Linked DNA regions of Homo sapiens: region 2 is linked to region 1. Evidence: promoter capture Hi-C in human tissues and cell types (Jung and others, 2019). All regions are on one chromosome and are shown on one strand. Each heading gives the region's core, a stretch centred on a gene start or on the middle of the fragment in contact. The rest is flanking DNA. Distances are from core to core; before and after follow the strand shown. Region 1 holds the start of SNX30 (sorting nexin family member 30). Region 2 overlaps SHOC1 (shortage in chiasmata 1).

What was found. Contacts are between HindIII fragments. The study calls those that stand out against the background at their distance.
Region 2: a contact is called between a fragment that was not itself captured here and the fragment with the promoter of SNX30 in region 1, in 2 of the 25 tissues and cell types used here (hippocampus and stomach).

Annotation. Positions count from the first base shown.
Region 1 is chr9:112,748,851-112,753,087 of GRCh38, forward strand. It overlaps SNX30 (sorting nexin family member 30), which reads left to right and starts at 1,910. Exons shown (of 9, transcript NM_001012994.2): 1 at 1,910-2,307. The coding sequence starts at 2,152. It overlaps SNX30-DT (SNX30 divergent transcript), which reads right to left and starts at 1,715. Exons shown (of 1, transcript NR_186503.1): 1 at 34-1,715. RefSeq lists a silencer at 1,668-2,487 and enhancers at 1,757-2,678, 2,679-3,598. The HindIII fragment of the contact is 10,773 bases long and covers 1-4,237 here.
Region 2 is chr9:111,741,364-111,745,600 of GRCh38, forward strand. SHOC1 (shortage in chiasmata 1) reads right to left here. Exons shown (of 28, transcript NM_001378211.1): 11 at 113-207. Among named protein-coding and RNA genes, the nearest start is that of SHOC1, 51 kb to the right of the region's middle. The HindIII fragment of the contact is 7,015 bases long and covers 1-4,237 here.

The DNA of each region.
Region 1 (4,237 bases), core at 660-3,159:
GTGTATATATATGTATATTCAACCAGACCCTACTCAGAATAGTAAAGCATATTTAATTACAAAAACTCTTTATTATTTCATAAGAATAGTAGAGAAAATCTGACAGAAAGGGAAAGGAAGGTAGGTAATTAACATTTAGGGAGCACCTATTTTATGCCAGCACTTTGCTAGGACTATGACATAAAGAATGCTATATAACTCTCACAACCATCTCATAAGGTATTATTACCTGCTCTCCATTCTCCTCCTTTTTAGGTTAGGAACAGGTTCACTGAGGTTAGTAACTTGCTCATGGTCACCCACTTGTAGTGACAAAGCCGAATTCAAATGTGGTTCTTTTTTCACTTTCCCCTGGTGTACTAAAGAGAAAGCTTGTATAGAGTCTTAATCCATACGGATGTCCATTATATTTAAGGCAGCCTGGTTGTTAAAATAAGTAGCACCATTCAATAAGAAAAACCGATGTTATACATCTATAGATGTATATACTCATTTCTAGAAATACTCATTTCTAGTTATATTGTGCTATTCATTTTCATGCTAATTCAGAAGAACAGATAATAGGGTCTGTAGTAGTTGTAAGCAGCCCTTGAATGTGAAAGTGTTAACAATTTTAATCCAACTCCAAGAGGACCAGAACTTGGCATTCCTTAGATGCAGCATTTAAAATTGTTCCCAGTGCCCTTTGAATGCTACTTTTCCCAGCCAAGGCAGGCTTATGTGGAGGAGATAAAGATGATAGCTTGAGGACTAAGGGTCCAACCCTATATAAATTACATTGGGGGAAATAGGGGAAGGTCTTTGAAGCTCAGAGTCTCTGACTGATATTTTGGGTAGATTTCAACCCTCTGCATTCTCTTCTATTTGTTTCTAGAGAAAACTGTGGTAGAGGCCTTAGTGAATCCCAGAGTCAACATCTGTCATCACCTTTTAGCAGGTAAGGCTAGGCAAACCTTTGAGTTTGGAATGGGTAGGGAAAATGTGGTCCCTCACGATGAGCCTCCCTACCCATTACTTTGCTAGAGGGACTGAAAACCCTTTAAAGACTTGGCCTTGGAAACAGAAGATCTAGGGACAGGTAAGGTGGAAAAAGGAGGTGAACCTACACCCCAAAGGGCTGGAAGTAACACCTTGACTATTTGCACCACGCCAGCAAATAAAGCTGAGAATCAGCTCAGCCCAAGGCCTGGAAAGGAAGCACAAATGCATGAAGAATAACTTGAACCTCATGGTTCTTTCAAAAGTCTCTTCGGCCAAAGTGTGAGTTGAAGAGTCGCATATCATTTGAGACTCTCTACTCATGCTCGCTGTTCTGAGGTTTGACTTTACACAAATCCAGCTCAGCTGCAGAAGCAAGCCACAATGGGGACCTCAGAGTGAGCCTGAAGACTCCCCACACCGCCTCTTTGAAGTCCCTTCCAGGTTCCCCACCCGATGTCCTCTAGCTCATTTGAGCCTTGTCGCCCTTTATGCTATTCTTCCGATATGGGTCGTAATTCCGTCTATCTAGGGTTCTTCCTGCGCGTGCCTTAGAGGCCAGAAGACCCTGACTCACGTGCGTGTCCTCAAAGCCCCCAGCCCCAAGCGTGGCTGCTGGTGGGCGCATCAGTAAACGCGGGTGGAACGGAACAGGCTCCTCCAACCTCTTTTCCACCTCTGATTTCCGTTAGACATTTGCTCCGCACGGCGGCCTCCGCGAGGCAACGTTGGACACTGGGAGGACAGCCGCAGAGGCCCAGGGCGCACTTCCTGCCGGGCGGGGGCGGGGCCGCGCCTCCTCCCTCCCTCCCTCCGTCCTTCCTTCCCCACGTGCCCCTTCCCCGCCCTCCCCGCCCCCTCCCGGGCGGCCGCGGCGCCTCGGGGGCGGGGCCGGAGCGGGTGGGCGGTGTGGCTGTGTGGGCTGGGCGCCGCGGCCGTGCTGCCAGCGGACCCGCGGCGGGCTCGGGCGCGGAGCGGGGGCGCGCGGCGCGGAGCGGAGCGTCTGAGCGCCGGCAGAGACCAGCCGGCGGGTGGCGGCGGCCCCCAGCACGGCCGGTGCAAGGCCTCGGGTTAAGCGGCGGCCGAGCGGGGCTCGGCCCGGGGTGCTCGGGGAGCTCGCCGCGGCGGGCAGCAGGAGGAAGCGGCGGCGGCGCGTCCCGAGCGGTGCGCGCCATGGCGGGCGGGCCCCCCAAGGCCCTGCCGTCCACGGGGCCCCACTCCCTGCGCGACATGCCGCACCCGCTGGCCGGCTCCAGCAGCGAGGAGGCCGTGGGTGGTGACAGCACGCCCAGCCCGGACCTGCTGATGGCCCGCAGCTTCGGTGACAAGGTGGGGCGCCTGGGGCCGGGGAGTGGGAGGCTTATTTCGCTCCCCGTGGGGGGGATGATGGATCCGGAGCCTTCGTGGGCCTGGGGCCGCGCCCACCCTGCCGCCCCTTCCCGGGGGACGGGCGTGTCCTGGCCCCGGAGCCCTCGGCGAAGCGTCTCCTCTGCCGCCTCCGCGGGGTCGCAGCCGCAGAGGGACAGGCTTCGCTGCCTGTGACTGGTCGCAAGCACCGGTGACAGCTGGTGGGGAGGGGTCCAGCCTGCGTGTTGGAGCGGGAGGCGTGTGTTCAGGGCAGGGCGCCTGTGTCCTCGGATGGGGTTCCGAGTTCCTCCAGGTGCATCCCTGCAGGCTGAGCTGCTGCATAACTTGTAGCTCCTCCAGTTTCCGAGACTGCACAGAAAGCAGGAGTTCCTGGCTTTCCGTGCTGGGACCGGGCAGCCCTGGGCTTACAGCGAGAGTCTTCTTCCCCCTAGTCAGTCATGTGGGGAGTGATCTTTGTTTAGGTTTGCTGTTTGTCCTGAGGAGTCACCTGACTCAGACCCCAGCCGGCGGCGGGAGGAGAGCCTCGTTGTGGTTTTCTGTCTGGGGCTCCATTCACCTCCGACGGCCTACCACTCTGTTTAGGTTTGGCAGAGGCTGGTTTTGTGGTTGATGGAAAGAAAGCTCGCCCTTTGACCTTCTTTGTACGGAGGGAGGCTCCAGATTTTCTTAGAGCAGCACAACCCTCCTGCTGCTTGGAGAGACAGCAGAGTCCAGGCAGGGGTAAGGGACGACCTCCTCCCTACCCCCATGGCCATTTCAGCTGTGAAGGAGACTTGAGCAGTGATTGTATCCCCGCTCCTGCCGTCACTTAGTCACTAACTGCAGAAATTAGAATTGTTCTCAGGTCTTGTGATCAAGATTTTCTCTCCCTAGTAAAATACTAAATGAATTCCCCCTTGTCCCAATATTAATGGGAGCAGGGGACCTAACTTTCTTCTCCCGTTAGAGGGGACACCATGTGGTACAGTGAAAAAGGAGTATGAGAAAATATAACCTGCCCTCCTTGCAGTCAGAAGGTCACTGAGCACTTAAAATCACTAGAGAGTGCGACTTGATGTACCTTCTGCAGAGGGTTTGTGAAAGCAGGGAGTGAAGTTCCAAAGCATTAGGAACAGGAAAATTAAAAAAGCTAATGGAGGCCAGGTGCAGTGGCTCACACCTGTAATACCAGCACTTTGGGAGGCTGAAGTGGGATGATTGCTCTGAACCAAAAGTTTGAGACCAGCCTGGGCAACATATCGAGACCCCGTTTCCACATACGCACACAGCATGGTGGCATGCACCTGTAATCCAGGCTACTCAGGAGGCTGAGGCGGGAGGATTGCTTGAGCCTGGGAGTTCAAGGCTGCAGTGAGCTATGATTGCACCGCTGTACTCCAGCCTGGGCAAGAGAGTGAGACCCTGTCTCCAAAAAATGTTGAATAACTGAATAAATTTGCTTTCTTATCGACAAAAATTGGTCTTAAAATAGTGTAGGAACTGGGGGTTAAACCTCATTTCCTTCTCAGTTCTGTGTGGGACACTGAATTAATTATCTATTGCTGTGTAGCAAATTACCCCAAAACTTATCACCTGGAAATAGTGTCTGTGGGACAATCTGAGTGGTTCTGAATTAGGCCTTTCTTGAGGTTGCAGTCAAGTTGTTGGCTTGGGCTGCAGTCATCTGAAGGCTGGATTAGGGGAGGATCCACTTCTAAGCTCACTCACATGGCTGTTGGCAGGTCTTAGTTACTCTCCATAGGGCTGTTTGATGTGGCAACTGGTTTTTCCCCCCAGAGCAAGTGATCCAAGAGAGCTCAAGACTCTAGCCAGTCTTGTATAACTTATCTTGGAAATGACATGCCTCTGCTGTATTCTGTTGGTCACACAGATTGACACTGGTACAATGTGG
Region 2 (4,237 bases), core at 485-2,984, 1.0 Mb before region 1:
GTTATATATTCTGTTAAGAAATGGTCAAAGAAAAAGGATATCCCACATTTCTACTCGTTGTACCTTTTTACCTATACTTTCTATTTATCACTTAAAGGCAATTAATCTTTACCTGTAAGCAAAAATGGGTTCAAAGGGCTTCTACATCTTTCTAATTGCCACATCATGTAGTATTCATTAGCTGATTCTTCAGCAGTAAGCAAATTACTGAAAAAAAGAGTTAAAGTTTAATACATTAATAATATTGAGTCTTTTGTATAATAAAATTTTATTTTATTTTATTTTTTTGAGGCAGAGTCTCGCTCTGTCGCCCAGGCTGGGGTACAGTGGCACTATCTTGGCTCACTGCAACCTCCGCCCCAGATTCAAGCGATTTTCCTGTCTCAGGCTCCCGAGCAGCTGGGATTACAGGCGTCTGCCACCATGCCTGACTAATTTTTGTATTTTTAGTAGAGGCGGGGTTTCACCATGTGGGCCAGGCTGGTCTCCAGCTCCTGACCTCAAGTAATCCGCCCACCTTGGCCTCCCAAAGTGCTGGGATTACAGGTGTGAGCCACCGCGCCTGGCCCAAAATTTTATTTTTAAAAAGTATTTTTAAAGTACTTTTACACTCAAAATCAAGTGAAAAATTGACTTTATAAATGTGTAAACTGCAGTCGAGTTCTACAGACCAAATATCAAACACAGTACTCACTTCCTCCATCCTTGGGAAAGTTTGGTAATTTGTAAACTCAATTGTTCCTACTTGACTGTAAATTACTCCCACCTCTACCTCCCTCAATGGAACCTGGAGCCAGAGAGGGCTGACTTGGGAGAGTTTTAGCACTTCCCTCCATAAACTATGCTAGCGTCAACCTTATACGCCACCAAAAATAAAAATACAATCTAAGTAAAATTACCATGCTTACCATGCACATAGCAACCTCAACAAAAATTTTTATAAAATTGCTGTCCCCAAGTCCATTCCATATAGAAATTCTGGATCCTCTACTGGCTGAGGATCAGAACTGTGAAAAAGTCCTTCTCTGGAGATGGCAGAGTCCTAAAGTTTAGTTCAAGACCTTCAATCTTGGTGGGTTTGTGAGTGAGTGATGTGTGTCTGTGTATGTGTGTTTAGGGGTACTCGGGGGGAGAAGGGAGAAAATAAGCATGTCAATCAGTGTAAATTACAGCTCATCTGTAGCTATGATGCTACTAGCCTTCGTAGGGGAAAGACTATTAATTCATAAACCCCTTAATCTGTGTCCCAAGCTCCCTGCTACCCTGAGTGAGAACTGATTGTATTCTGTTTCTCTGTTCATATGGAACATATATGAGCATGCTAATTATAAGTATTGCCAGTTAAATTGACAGTCTAGGGCAGTGGAAAGCTAGGTTTTATGTCTAAGGCATCCAGTTTACCCACATAATCCAAAAATCTGGTCATGTGATAGAAAATTTGAGAATCTAGACAATTCCTGAATCTTACCAAGGTTTCTTTGACAACACCTCAGATTGTAAGCAACTATTTTAAAGTGAAAGGAACGTGTTATATTTAGCAGGCCATGTCCAATATAGACACACATTTTCACTCTTAACGGAGCTTTCTGAAGGCATGTCTGAATCTGATACATTGTTCATAAAAATATATTCACAAGTCAGCAGTCAGTTAGTAGCTTAATAAAATCTTATGCCATACAGACTTTTCTTTTTTAGCCCATAAAATCTAGCATAGAATCTTATATGTGGTAGGCACTAAAAATATTGTTAACTGGGTATTATTTTCAGCCAAAATGTTGTGCTCTGAAATAAAAATAATTGGGACCATAAAAATAAGTTAAAGCTACAATAACATTCTTTGTTATTTTTCCTTCTTTTTTTCAAAAAAATTTTAACACCTTTTCTCCTTGTTTTTAGTTTTACAGTTGAGATATACAGTAGTTCCCCCTTATCCATGAGTTCACTATACTCGGTTTCATTTATCTGTGTTCAACTGCAGTCCAAACTATTAAACAGAATATTCCATAAACAATTCATAAGTTTTAAATTGCACTGTTGCGAGCAGTGTGATGAAATTTCATGCCATCCTACACCATCTCGCCCAGGATGTGAATCATCCCTTTGCCCAGCATATCCACACTATATGTACTCACTACCTGCCCATTAGTCACTTAGTAGCATTCTCAGTTATCAGATCAGCTGTTGCAGAATCACAGTGCTTGTGTTCAAGTAACCCCTTCTGTATTTAATAATGACTCCAAAGCACAAGAGTAATGAGGATGGTATTTGTTATGGTCGTTCTATTTTACTATTTTACTATAGTTATTGCTGTTAATGTCTTACTATGGCTAATTTATAAATTAAACTTTATCATAGGTATGAATATATGAGAAAAAACAGTATATATAGGGTTCAATAACATTCGCAGTTTCAGGCATCCATTTAAGGTCTTGGAATTTATTCTCCCGGCATAAAGGGGGACTACTGTAAACTCATTTTTAAAATATGGATTTTTAAGCTTTTACAGTTGCCAAACAAATGGAAGTGATTTATCTCTTGCTGGTAAATGTAGTAGTGAGGGGAAAACTTCTTTCAGTTGTTTCAAATGGCTCTAAAACCATTAGCTAATTTGAAAGCCTTTTTTTTCTAACTTTGCCAAATCGTAAGTCATTAGTTAAGATTTGTTTCATAAATTCTTATTAGATATTTGAGTTATAACAATAGACATATAACTTGTGATTAAAAAGAGCTTATTATGGTTTAAATACTTCTAAAATCAAACTGAAATTAAAGATCATACTAATTTCTGCTAGTTTCTGTTTCTAAAAATGCCAGTCTGTCATAACAGATGGATTAGGGTGTATGGACTAAATAAAAGAGTAAAAGGGCACTAACAAAAACAGTATATGTCCTGCAAATAAATATCTTGTACCTTATCAAGAGAACTAAAAGTATTTAAACAAAGTGTATGTAGTTTCCATACTTGTCCTATGCTCTTTTTAGGGCTCATATCTGATATGGACAATTCTTAGTTCATGATAGAACTCTGTATAGCACAAATTTACTCTAGAAATGTAAATAATTCTTAGCCAGAAGATAAAGATATATTTAGGGCCCTCAGTCTTATGCTTTGACACTTTCCTGAGACCATTAATAGAAGCCTAAGCAGCCAGTGATGAATTATACAGCCTTGACTCCAGCTGGTCCCAGTAATCCAAATAGCACTCTCCTCTGGCAGATCAGCTAATTATAACAAGAATTCAAACCTAACACACACAGTTCCCACAGTTTCCAGTCCTGGAATAATTCATTAGAGACTTGTAGACTTTACTGTCATCTTCCTGAAAATATGTTATTTTAGGACACATTAAGTTCTAGGTTTACAGTAGACTAATTGTACTGGTTATGTTCCCAATTTTTTAACTGGCGTAAGAAGCAGAGGAATGGAATGGCTTTATTCCAGGATAGCAGACTAATCAATCTTAGAAAACATTAAGCTACATGTGTGCTGCATGGTTTAAGACAGCAATGAAAGCTATCTCAGACTCTATCAAAGGGCAAGGATGCTGGGCTATTAAGCTATGCAGTTTTGGCTCAAACTAGAATATAATGACCTAGCCCTGCAGTATCAATTCTACAATTTCAGACTATTCTGTGCAATAATGATGGGGTATTGAACAAGTTTACGAATCAAGCCTTGGTTCTGTATGTCTGGTCCACCCATTACTGAGACCACATTGACAAGAGGTGAACAAGGTCAGTGGCTGTCCTCTGTTAGAGATAGGACATCCATAAGAGAGCAAGGACTCTTGCACTCTTAATGGGAATAAACTGATAGCCAAATCTATTGATCAACGATTGTCCACACTGCTCTGTGATCTTTGGCTACTTCTGGCCACAGACCTATGACAAATCTTTTAGTAGACCTCTTAACAACCTTATAGATACTATTATTATCCCAGTATTGTAGATTTAAAAAACCTGAGGCACAGAACAATTAAGGTTGCAGTTAGAAAGTGATAGAGCTAGGCAATCTGGCTCTAGTTCAGAGCTTCTAACCACTTATTATGGGCTGAATTGTGTCCCCACAAAATTCTTATGTTGAAGACCTAATCCTCAGTACCTCAGAATGTGACTGTATTTGGAGACAAGGTCTTTAAAGAGGTAATTAAGTTAAACAGGGCCATTAATACAATGTGACTGGTATCCTTATAAGAACAGGAGATTGGGGTATAGACAATGATAGAGGAAAGAATAT